Regions from separate parts of the Homo sapiens genome. Here region 1 is linked to region 2. Evidence: promoter capture Hi-C in 16 types of primary human blood cells and fetal thymus (Javierre and others, 2016). All regions are on one chromosome and are shown on one strand. Each heading gives the region's core, a stretch centred on a gene start or on the middle of the fragment in contact. The rest is flanking DNA. Distances are from core to core; before and after follow the strand shown. Region 1 has its middle 39 kb from the start of LINC01646. Region 2 holds the start of C1orf174 (chromosome 1 open reading frame 174).

The links. Contacts are between HindIII fragments. The CHiCAGO score rates a contact against its expected background, and 5 or more counts as called.
Region 1: a contact is called between a fragment that was not itself captured here and the fragment with the promoter of C1orf174 in region 2, in 1 of 17 cell types (erythroblasts). The highest score is 6.3, in erythroblasts.

Annotation. Positions count from the first base shown.
Region 1 is chr1:4,608,374-4,612,417 of GRCh38, reverse strand. No RefSeq gene overlaps it. Among named protein-coding and RNA genes, the nearest start is that of LINC01646, 39 kb to the right of the region's middle. The HindIII fragment of the contact is 3,261 bases long and covers 1-3,116 here.
Region 2 is chr1:3,897,946-3,902,537 of GRCh38, reverse strand. It overlaps C1orf174 (chromosome 1 open reading frame 174), which reads left to right and starts at 2,266. Exons shown (of 4, transcript NM_207356.3): 1 at 2,266-2,366. The coding sequence starts at 2,352. It overlaps LINC01134 (long intergenic non-protein coding RNA 1134), which reads right to left and starts at 2,134. Exons shown (of 4, transcript NR_024455.1): 1 at 1,907-2,134. RefSeq lists silencers at 1,186-1,365, 2,446-2,515 and enhancers at 1,566-1,825, 1,465-2,034, 2,035-2,603, 2,604-3,174. The HindIII fragment of the contact is 4,148 bases long and covers 1-3,566 here.

The DNA.
Region 1 (4,044 bases), core at 237-2,736, 710 kb before region 2:
TTTCTGAAAAGCATACACACCCTGGCAGCCCAGGAATGCCCAGGAGCACCAGGCTCTGCTGAGAAGATTCTGACCTTGGTAGTCAAGGCGGCTGTCATGGTGTACCGATCCTACAGAGAGATTAACAGAAAAGGGGAGAGGAGGCGGGGTGGCGAGGAGGGGAGGGAGAGGAAGCAGGAGAGGCACGGGGAGGGGCAGCCTCCTACCTGAACCCAGGCCGCAGGCCGCCTGGACTCCATGTCTGTCTTATCATGGACCCCATCAGGCCTGTGCCCGGGTGACCCTGGGAACCGTCTCTGGTTTCTCACTCACTGTGTCCTTGCAGGAGAGCCACTGTGGCTGGCTGAAGGGATCCAGGGCACATTTGTGTGGAGGAGCGGGAGGAGATTGCCCACCTCCCACCACTGCTTTCCCTTCTAATTGAATGCTGGGGAAATGACAGGTCATTGCCTCCAGTTTTATTTGTTGGGAAAATGGAGGAAAGTGCTACAGATTGTGATCGGGAACAAAGCTGAGCAGATAACAGGAGACCCGCCTTGGGCCTGCAGAAAGACAAAACCCGGTCCCTGATTAGACGCTGAGGGCAAGGCCGGGAGGGGGCAGTGGGCGGGACATGGAGTGTCATTTGATTGTCTCTGCTGGCAGCGCTCCCCGGAATTGCCATTTAAATTATTCAGCGTTTTTAAGCACCGTTGGACTTGGGGTATTGTCAGCTGCACAGGGAGGCCGAGTGTGGGGCTGCCTCAGCCCCGGCAGCTGGATGACGCGTATTCTCCTGTCATGGTATTTCTAACAGTGACTCTCTCCCTCTCTGTAGCAGGCACCATCTTCCCTCCTCCTTTAGGGAAAGGGCACCCACATCTCCTTTGGGGACCCCCACTTCATTCTCTCTCGAGGAGCCTGGGGGCCTTCCTGGTTTCAGCTGATCAGCATTTCCCATGGCTGTGGCCCTGGCCCCAGGGATCCATGCACAGGAGGGCACATGGCCTATGTTGGCTCCACTCGAGGGACCTCTCACCACCTTCTGGGAGGGGTGAGACAGACCAGAGCTCAGTCTCTCCCACAGGATGGGCAGGGGAAGAGAAGAGCACTGGCCCAGGGGGTCGATAGTCATTAGCACTGGTGAAAGGAGAGTCAGCCTCAGAATGAGACCTGAAAGCAGGAAGAAGCGGTCAAGCGCAATCAGGTGGAGTGGGGCATGAGTCAAATTGTGGGGCCTGAAATCCATGCCTACCTGGAACCTAGAATGTGAGGTCTTTGCAGAGGTCATTAGTTAAGACAAGGTCAGCCGGGGCAGTGGCTCACACCTGTAATCCCAGCACTTTGGGAGGCCAAGACAAAAGAATTGCTTGAGCTCAGGAGATTGGGACCAGCTTGGGCAACATAGTGAGACATCATCTCTACAAACAATAATAATTTAAAAAAAAGCTATGGTGGCACACACCTGTGGTCCTAGCTACACGGGAGGCCGAGGTGGGAGGATTGCTTGAGCCTAGGGTGTCGAAGCTGCAGTGAGCCAAGACCTTGCCACTGCACAACAGCCTGGGTAACACAGAAAGACCCTGTCTCCAAAAAAATGAGGTCATACTAGAATAGGGTGAGCTATATGTGCAATATGACTGGAGTCCTTATGAGAATAAAAAGAACCTCAAAGAGGCTCACTGTAAAGACGGCCATGTGAAGAATGAGGCAGAGATGGGAGCAATACAGCCACAAGCCAAGGAACAAGAAAGATTGCCAGGAGCCATGAGAAGCTATGAGAGAGACTCAGAGGGAGCCATCCCCAGGGCCTTTGGAGGAGGGATGGGCCTGCCCACAATTTGACTTCAGATCTCAGGCTTCCAGAACTGTGAGACAACACCTGTTGTTTCAAGCCAAACAATTGAGTTATGTTGTTACTGCATTTAGGGAACTCATCAAGAAGTATAACTGGGCTGTGGGTGTTGAGGCTTTCCCACCCCTGGACCAGACAGTGGAGTTAACTGGGCTTCCAAATGCCCTGCCTTGCTTCAGCCAGTTTAAAGTGGGTCATGGTGAATTGTGACCAGTGGATTCCTAATGGACACAGCCTCCACAACAAGCAAGGGAACACATCTGGCTGGGCAGGAGTACGAAATGTGCATGTCAGTGCAGAAAAATCTGTACCTCAACCACTCAGTGAACACATCCCAGACCCCTCCCCAGGCTCCCTCACAGCTCAAATAGCCAAATATTTAGCCCCCTTTTGAAGTGCTCAAGTACTGCTGGAAAAAGAGAGATGCAAGCTACATAACTACAATTCAGCTTACTACAGAAAAGCCACTGCAGGAATTCACAGATGGCTTGATCCTGCCTGGCCAGTTTGATCATCAAAGGCTGCATTTAGAGGGCAGCATTTAAAATTAGACATTTCAATGCCTCATATTAATGGATTGGGGAATATAAATTATTTCTGAGTGACATTTTAATGTACTACATATCCCTTCAATCTAAATTACCAAAGTTTATAAACATTGAATTCCTATTGATGAAGAAGCAAATATTTAGCTCCTTACTGCTAAGACCATGAAATCACTTTTCAAAGGGTGGAGCTGAACTTGACCTACTCACTTCTGTTGTTTAGTTCTTGGTCCCAGTCAGGAAAGGAGGAGAGAGCACTGTTTTTGAGTGCTTATGTGCCAGGGTTTAGACTATACATTTTCAGGTGTCTTTTCCCAATTTTCATAACAACCCAATGAGGAACATAGTATCTGTCTATTTCAGCTCAGGAACTAGGTTTAGAGTAGTTAAAAAAAACTTTCCCAAGATCACACGACTGGGTAGTGTTTCAATGTGATTCTGTTTGGTTCTAAAACTCATGCTTTTTCATTTCTACCAAACCATGCTTCATCGCTACAGGTTTAAAAGGACAAAAGGCCCAAAGTGGTTACAGCCTGGCCTAAGGTCACAAGGAGGGTCGGGGTAGAACTGAAGATGGAGTTGAAGACTTGCCTGGTTGGTTCTCAGCTCACCCTCTATGCATCCCTTACTCTTCCCTGTGTGTGCTAAAATGTTAGGTAAGACTCTTAATACTCAGAAGTAATCCTCAGAAAACTCATTTGCATTTTGTTTTCCTAACAAGGAAAATGGGGCAAGCTTCACCTTGTCAGTCCTTCAGGGGAGCAAACATTCCAGAAGGAAGTAGGTTTGGATTGTTGAGGTCTGGTCCTCCTTACCCCTGGGTGGGGTAAACTGACTCATTTTAAAATATCTCTAATCTGGGCTTTTTTTTCCCTATGGACAGCCCATGCACATGCTAGCTGGACCAGGAGGGAGGATGGGAGGAGGGAAAGTGGTACTCCGGGCCCTGAGATGTGGCTACCTGAGCCTCATGCTGACAACATGTGCCCAGGGACAGCAGAGGGAGCAGCAAGGGGGCTGGCCCTGGGAGGCCCGAGGCAGGGGCAGCTGTCACCTGTGTCTTCTCCCAGGCACCCACAGGTTAACTGTGAGCTCACTGAAGAACTGCAGAGCATGTGTGCTGGTGGGGTGTGACAGGCAGGTTGGTTCACCCCACTGTGGAGATAGGGAGAAGAGGACCCTGTTTGGTTTCTCTCTGGGGCTTCATGCCTCCTGGTTTCTATCCAACTGCTGGGCCCCTAAGGTCCTCTCCTTCATGCTCTTTTTTTTTTTTTTTTTTTGAATCCTGATCTCACCCTCATCTGGGGAAGTCTCACCACCCAGCAACAGAGCCTCTGTAGTACAACCACTACCTCCCCTCCTCAAGCACAGAGGGCCGCTCTGTGCCACTCCTGCTCTGAAAGACAGAAGCATTATTTTCCCCACCAACGCCAAGGTCTTATCTTTTCATATTGAGAATATTCCTGTGACAAGCCGAAAAGCCACCTCAAATGTCATGCTGCTATTATGGGCGGTTTTGCCCAGCCTGTGAGACAGGCAGAGGCTCTTCCCTTGATCTACACAAGAGATGGCACCTGTTTGTTTAAGAAACTCATAAAACAGTGTGGTGGGCTGACAGGTGGCCCCAGAGAGACAGGTTGCATCCTAATCCCCAGAACACAGGAA
Region 2 (4,592 bases), core at 1,017-3,516:
AGTTTAAGTGGAAAACCTAATGCTTCTGACAAAACTGCCTGATTTAAATGTTCTCACTTGAAAAAAAAAATAATGATTTAAAAAGGAAATAAGACTCCCATTTATTTGCAAAGCACAGTACGGGCTGCTGGGTGCACCCTGCGCCCGAGCACCTGGGAGCCAGCCCTGGACTGCGCAGCCACCTGCGGGCGGAGAGGGGAGGGGCCAGGTGTCCTCGGCCTCTGATGTGGCTTCCACCCTGCGCCCTTTTCTGAAGACACACATCCTAGAGCCCAGAGAACTTGAGGGCTGGAGGGTTTAAGGCAAGGCTGGATTTCATTTCTATGTTGAAATTCTTAAGAACAGAACAGTGTGCCGAGCGCGGTGGCTCACGCCTGTAATCCCAGCATTTTGGGAGGCCGCAGCAGGCGGACCACGAGGTCAGGAGATCGAGATCATCCTAGCTAACACGGTGAAACCCCGTCTCTACTAAAAATACAAAAAAATTAGCCGGGTGTGGTGGCGGGAGCCTGTAGTCCCAGCTACTCGGGAGGCTGAGGCAGGAGAATGGCGTGAACCCGGGAGGCAGAGCTTGCAGTGAGCCGAGATTGCGTCACTCCACTCCAGCCTGGGCGACATAGCGAGACTCCCGTCAAAAAAAAAAAAGAAAAGAAAAGAACAGTGGGCCTGGCACGGTGGCTCACGCCTGTAATCCCAGCACTTTGGGAGGCCAAGGTGGGCGGATTATTTGAGGTCAGGAGTTCGAGACCAGCCTGACCAACATGATGAAACCCCATCTCTACTAAAAATACAAAAATTAGCCAGGTGTGGTGGCGCCTGCCTGTAATCCCAGCTACTCAGGAGGCTGAGGCAGGAGAATGGCTTGAGCCCATGAGGCGGAGGTTGCAGTGAGCTGAGATCGCGCCACTGCACTCCAGCCTGGGTGACAGAGCGAGACTCCGTCTCAAAAAACAAACAAACAAACAAAAAAACCCACAACAGAACAGTGGTCCTCAGCTTTACAAACACCTCCCTCAGCGGCGGCCAAAGAGGACGCATCACAGCAGCCCAGGCCTGCTAGGGGCGTGTTTGCTGGAGGAGGCGTGGCCGCCGTGTGTCCATCCAGACCTGATAGGGCGCGGCCATTGGAGGAGGCGTGGCCGCTGCGGGTCCACCCAGGCCTGCTAGGGGCGTGGCCATTGGAAAAGGCGTGGCCCCTGCGAGTCCACGTTGGCCCCGGAGAGTAACGGGACGGCGGAGGGGTCATTTCCCGCCTTGCACGTAACGGGGGACGAAAACCGGCCCCCAGCCCGACGCCGGACCCTGGCCTCCTGGGCCCACCGACGGCCTCCACTAAGGCCCCCTCCCGCCCGCAACGTGGGGGACAGCTGAGGCCACTTCCCGGGCGGGCCACCCCAACCCAAAGCGGCATGTCGCGGGGCAGCACAGCCTGCGACAAGCGCGCAAAGCTCCCCAGCGGGACCGCAGCACGGGCAGGCCTGGGAGTCCCTCGCGCTGCTCAAGGCCGCTAACCGGCACTCAGAAACCAGCGCTCTGCGGCACTGGAGAAAGCACTTCCCGCCCTCCTGCAGGCTGTTAGCCAGGGGATGCAAGGGGAGGGGCCCCTCACGGACGTCCCGCCCGCCCCTCTCAAACATGGCGGCCACAGGCGCACCAAAGGAAGAGCCCCTCACAAACATGGCCGTCCGCCCCTCTCATACATGGCGCCAAAGAGGCTTCAAGGGAAGCGCCCCTCACGAACATGGTTGCCTGCCCCTCTCAAACATAGCGGCCACAGGCGCACCAAGAGAAGCGCCCCTTACAAACATGGCCGTCTGCCCCTCTCAAACATGGTGGCCAAAGAGGCTTCAAGGGAAGAGCCCCTCAAGAACATGGTTGCTCCCCCCTCAAGAACATAGTTGCCCACCTCGCTCAAACATGGCGGCCACAGGTGCACCAAGGGAAGCGCCGTTCACGAACATGGCCGTCTGCCCCTTTCAAATATGGCGAACACAGAAGCTACAAAAAAAGCACCCCCCGCAAACATAATCTCTCAGGCCTGCCACGGGCGTGGGAAACATAGCGGCTACAGGGGTGCCAAGGGACGCGCCCTCATGAACATGGCCGGCCACAGGCCGACTTCCTGCTCCAGTGTCCCACCACTGGCCCAAGGCCTGTGACCTTCGCCCGCCGCTTACGAAAGAGCCAACACGGGGGGGGGGGGGGGGGGAATCACATGACGAGGGTGCTGCACTGTGATTGGCTGTGCTGACGTCGGACGCCGCCGCGGCGCGCTCTGCAGACTCCGGGTCGCCGCTCCGCCGGGACGCGTTGGCCGGGGCGCGCGGTGCTTGGCTGCGGTGCTCACACTCATGAGGAGCCGGAAGGTGAGGGCTGGGTCCCGGCAGCAGCTGCGCCGGGCAGGGCGGGGACTCTGGGTCACCTGCTGTCTGGAGAACCGGGGCGGGGTCACGGGGTGCCTGTGGCCTAGGAGCGGCCTCCGCTTGGGCCTCGCCCCCGGCAGTAGTTGGGGGGCTCCAGGCCACGCTCCCGGGAGAAGGAGGGCTGCCAGGTCACGCCCCTGTGAAAAGGGGGCTCCGGGCCACGCCCTCGGAAGAAGTGGAGCTCACAGGTCACGTCCCCGGGAGAAGGGGGCTCCCAGGTTACCCACCCCCGCAGAATGGGGCCTCTGGGCCACACCCCCGAGAGAAGGGGAGCTCCCAGGCCATGCCCGCGGGAGAAGGGGGGCTCCGGTCCACGCCCTCGGGAGAAGTGGAGCTCACAGTTCACGTCCTGGGCAACAGGGGGCTCCCAGGTCACGCCCCCTTGAAGGGAGGTTTCGGGCCACTTTCCTAGGAAGGTGGGGCACCCTCTCCAGAACTGGTTTCAACTCCTGGTAGTGCTAGATGCTGCAGAGCTGAGTTTGTGCCCCTCAACTGCTGCCACTCCAATGGACGTCACACAGCAAGTGACCTCAGCTTGGCCCCATCTACTGAATGTGCTAAAAGTGGGGTGATGAGGGATCCACCAAGAGGGTGGTGAGGATTGAAGGGGGGTGCCAGTGTCTGGCAAGGGGCAAGTGCTCATTGCGTGGGTGTAACAGTTAAGGCGAAGGACCCTTTTCACAGTGGACCCGGCGCGGGTCCCGGTCCACTTGGGAGGCTCTGAGCTGCATGGAGGCTCTCCTGGTTTGTTCAAATGGAGTGGCCACTTGTGAATTCCAACTCCTTTTACTATTTTTATCTTTGAACCAAAACTTGTCTCCTGTAGGCACATATACTTGGATCTTTTTTAAAATGCAGTCTGGTAGTTTCTGCCTTTTGATTGAATTGTTTAGCCCATGCACATTTAATATTATTGATACACTGTAGTTAGGTTTACATTTGCCATTTTACTTTTTCTTTTCTTTATACAAGTCTGTCTTTTTCTTCCCCTGTTCCTTCTTTAAGTGGATTAAAGTGAATATTTCCTAATGTAGCATTTTAATTTAATGATTTTTTTTCCACAACTTTTTTGGGTTTTTTCCAGTGCTTTATGTTTTACCGTATACAGCTTAATCTTCATATTCTCCATATACATCTTAAGCTTCAGATTTGTACTAGGTTAATTCCAAGTGATACAGAAATGTTACTCTTATATGGTTATTTTTGTGGTATTTTGTTATATGTATTACATCTGATAATGTTACAAACTCAACAGTACTGTGTTATCATTATTACTTTCTGTCTGTGGTCATTTCCTTAGCCAGCAGGGGTTTGCTTTCACCCACTTTGTTTTGTTATTGGCAAATATAGTACATGTCTGTATATATTATACACATATTACTGTATACAATTGCTTTTTAAATTAAGAGAAGGAGGTAGAGGAATAGGCATTTAAACTATATAAGAACATAATTACCTTTACTGGTGCTGTTTTTGTGTGTGTGTGGTTTTGAATTACTGTCTGGGGTCACTTGCTTTCAGCCTGATGAACTTCTTTTAGTGTTTCTTGTAAAGTGAGTTTTGTTGTTGTTGTTGTTGTTGTTGTTGTTGTTGTTGTTTTTGCTTTGAGACCAGAGTCTCACTCTGTTGCCCAGGCTGGAGTGCAGAGGTGTGATCTCGGCCCACTGCAACCTCTGCCTCCCGGGTTCAAGTGATTCTCACCTCAGCCTCTGGAATGGCTGGGATTACAGGAGGCTGCCACTACGCCCGGCTAATTTTTGTGTTTTTACTGGAGACAGGTTTTCACCATGTTGGCGAGGCTGGTCTAAAACTCCTGACCTCAGGTGATCACTGCCTCAGCCTCCCAAAGTGGTGGGATTACAGGCATGAGCCACCATGCCCAGCCCATTTTTGAAGTATAGCTTTGCTGGATATAGGATTCTTGGTTGACAAGTTTATTTGAGCATGTTGAATATGTTTGAATATTCTCCATTGTTTCAGTCAGTTCATTTATTGAGGTTCCCTTCTAAGTGGCTTTCTTCTTGGGGCTTTCAAGGTTTTGTTCTCTTTCAAGATTTTGCCTTTGATCTTTGTATTTTTACAGTGATGTGTCTGTGGATCTCTTTGCATGTATCCTATTTGGAGTTCTGTTCATTAAGATTCCTGGATATGGGGCCAGGCACGGTGGCT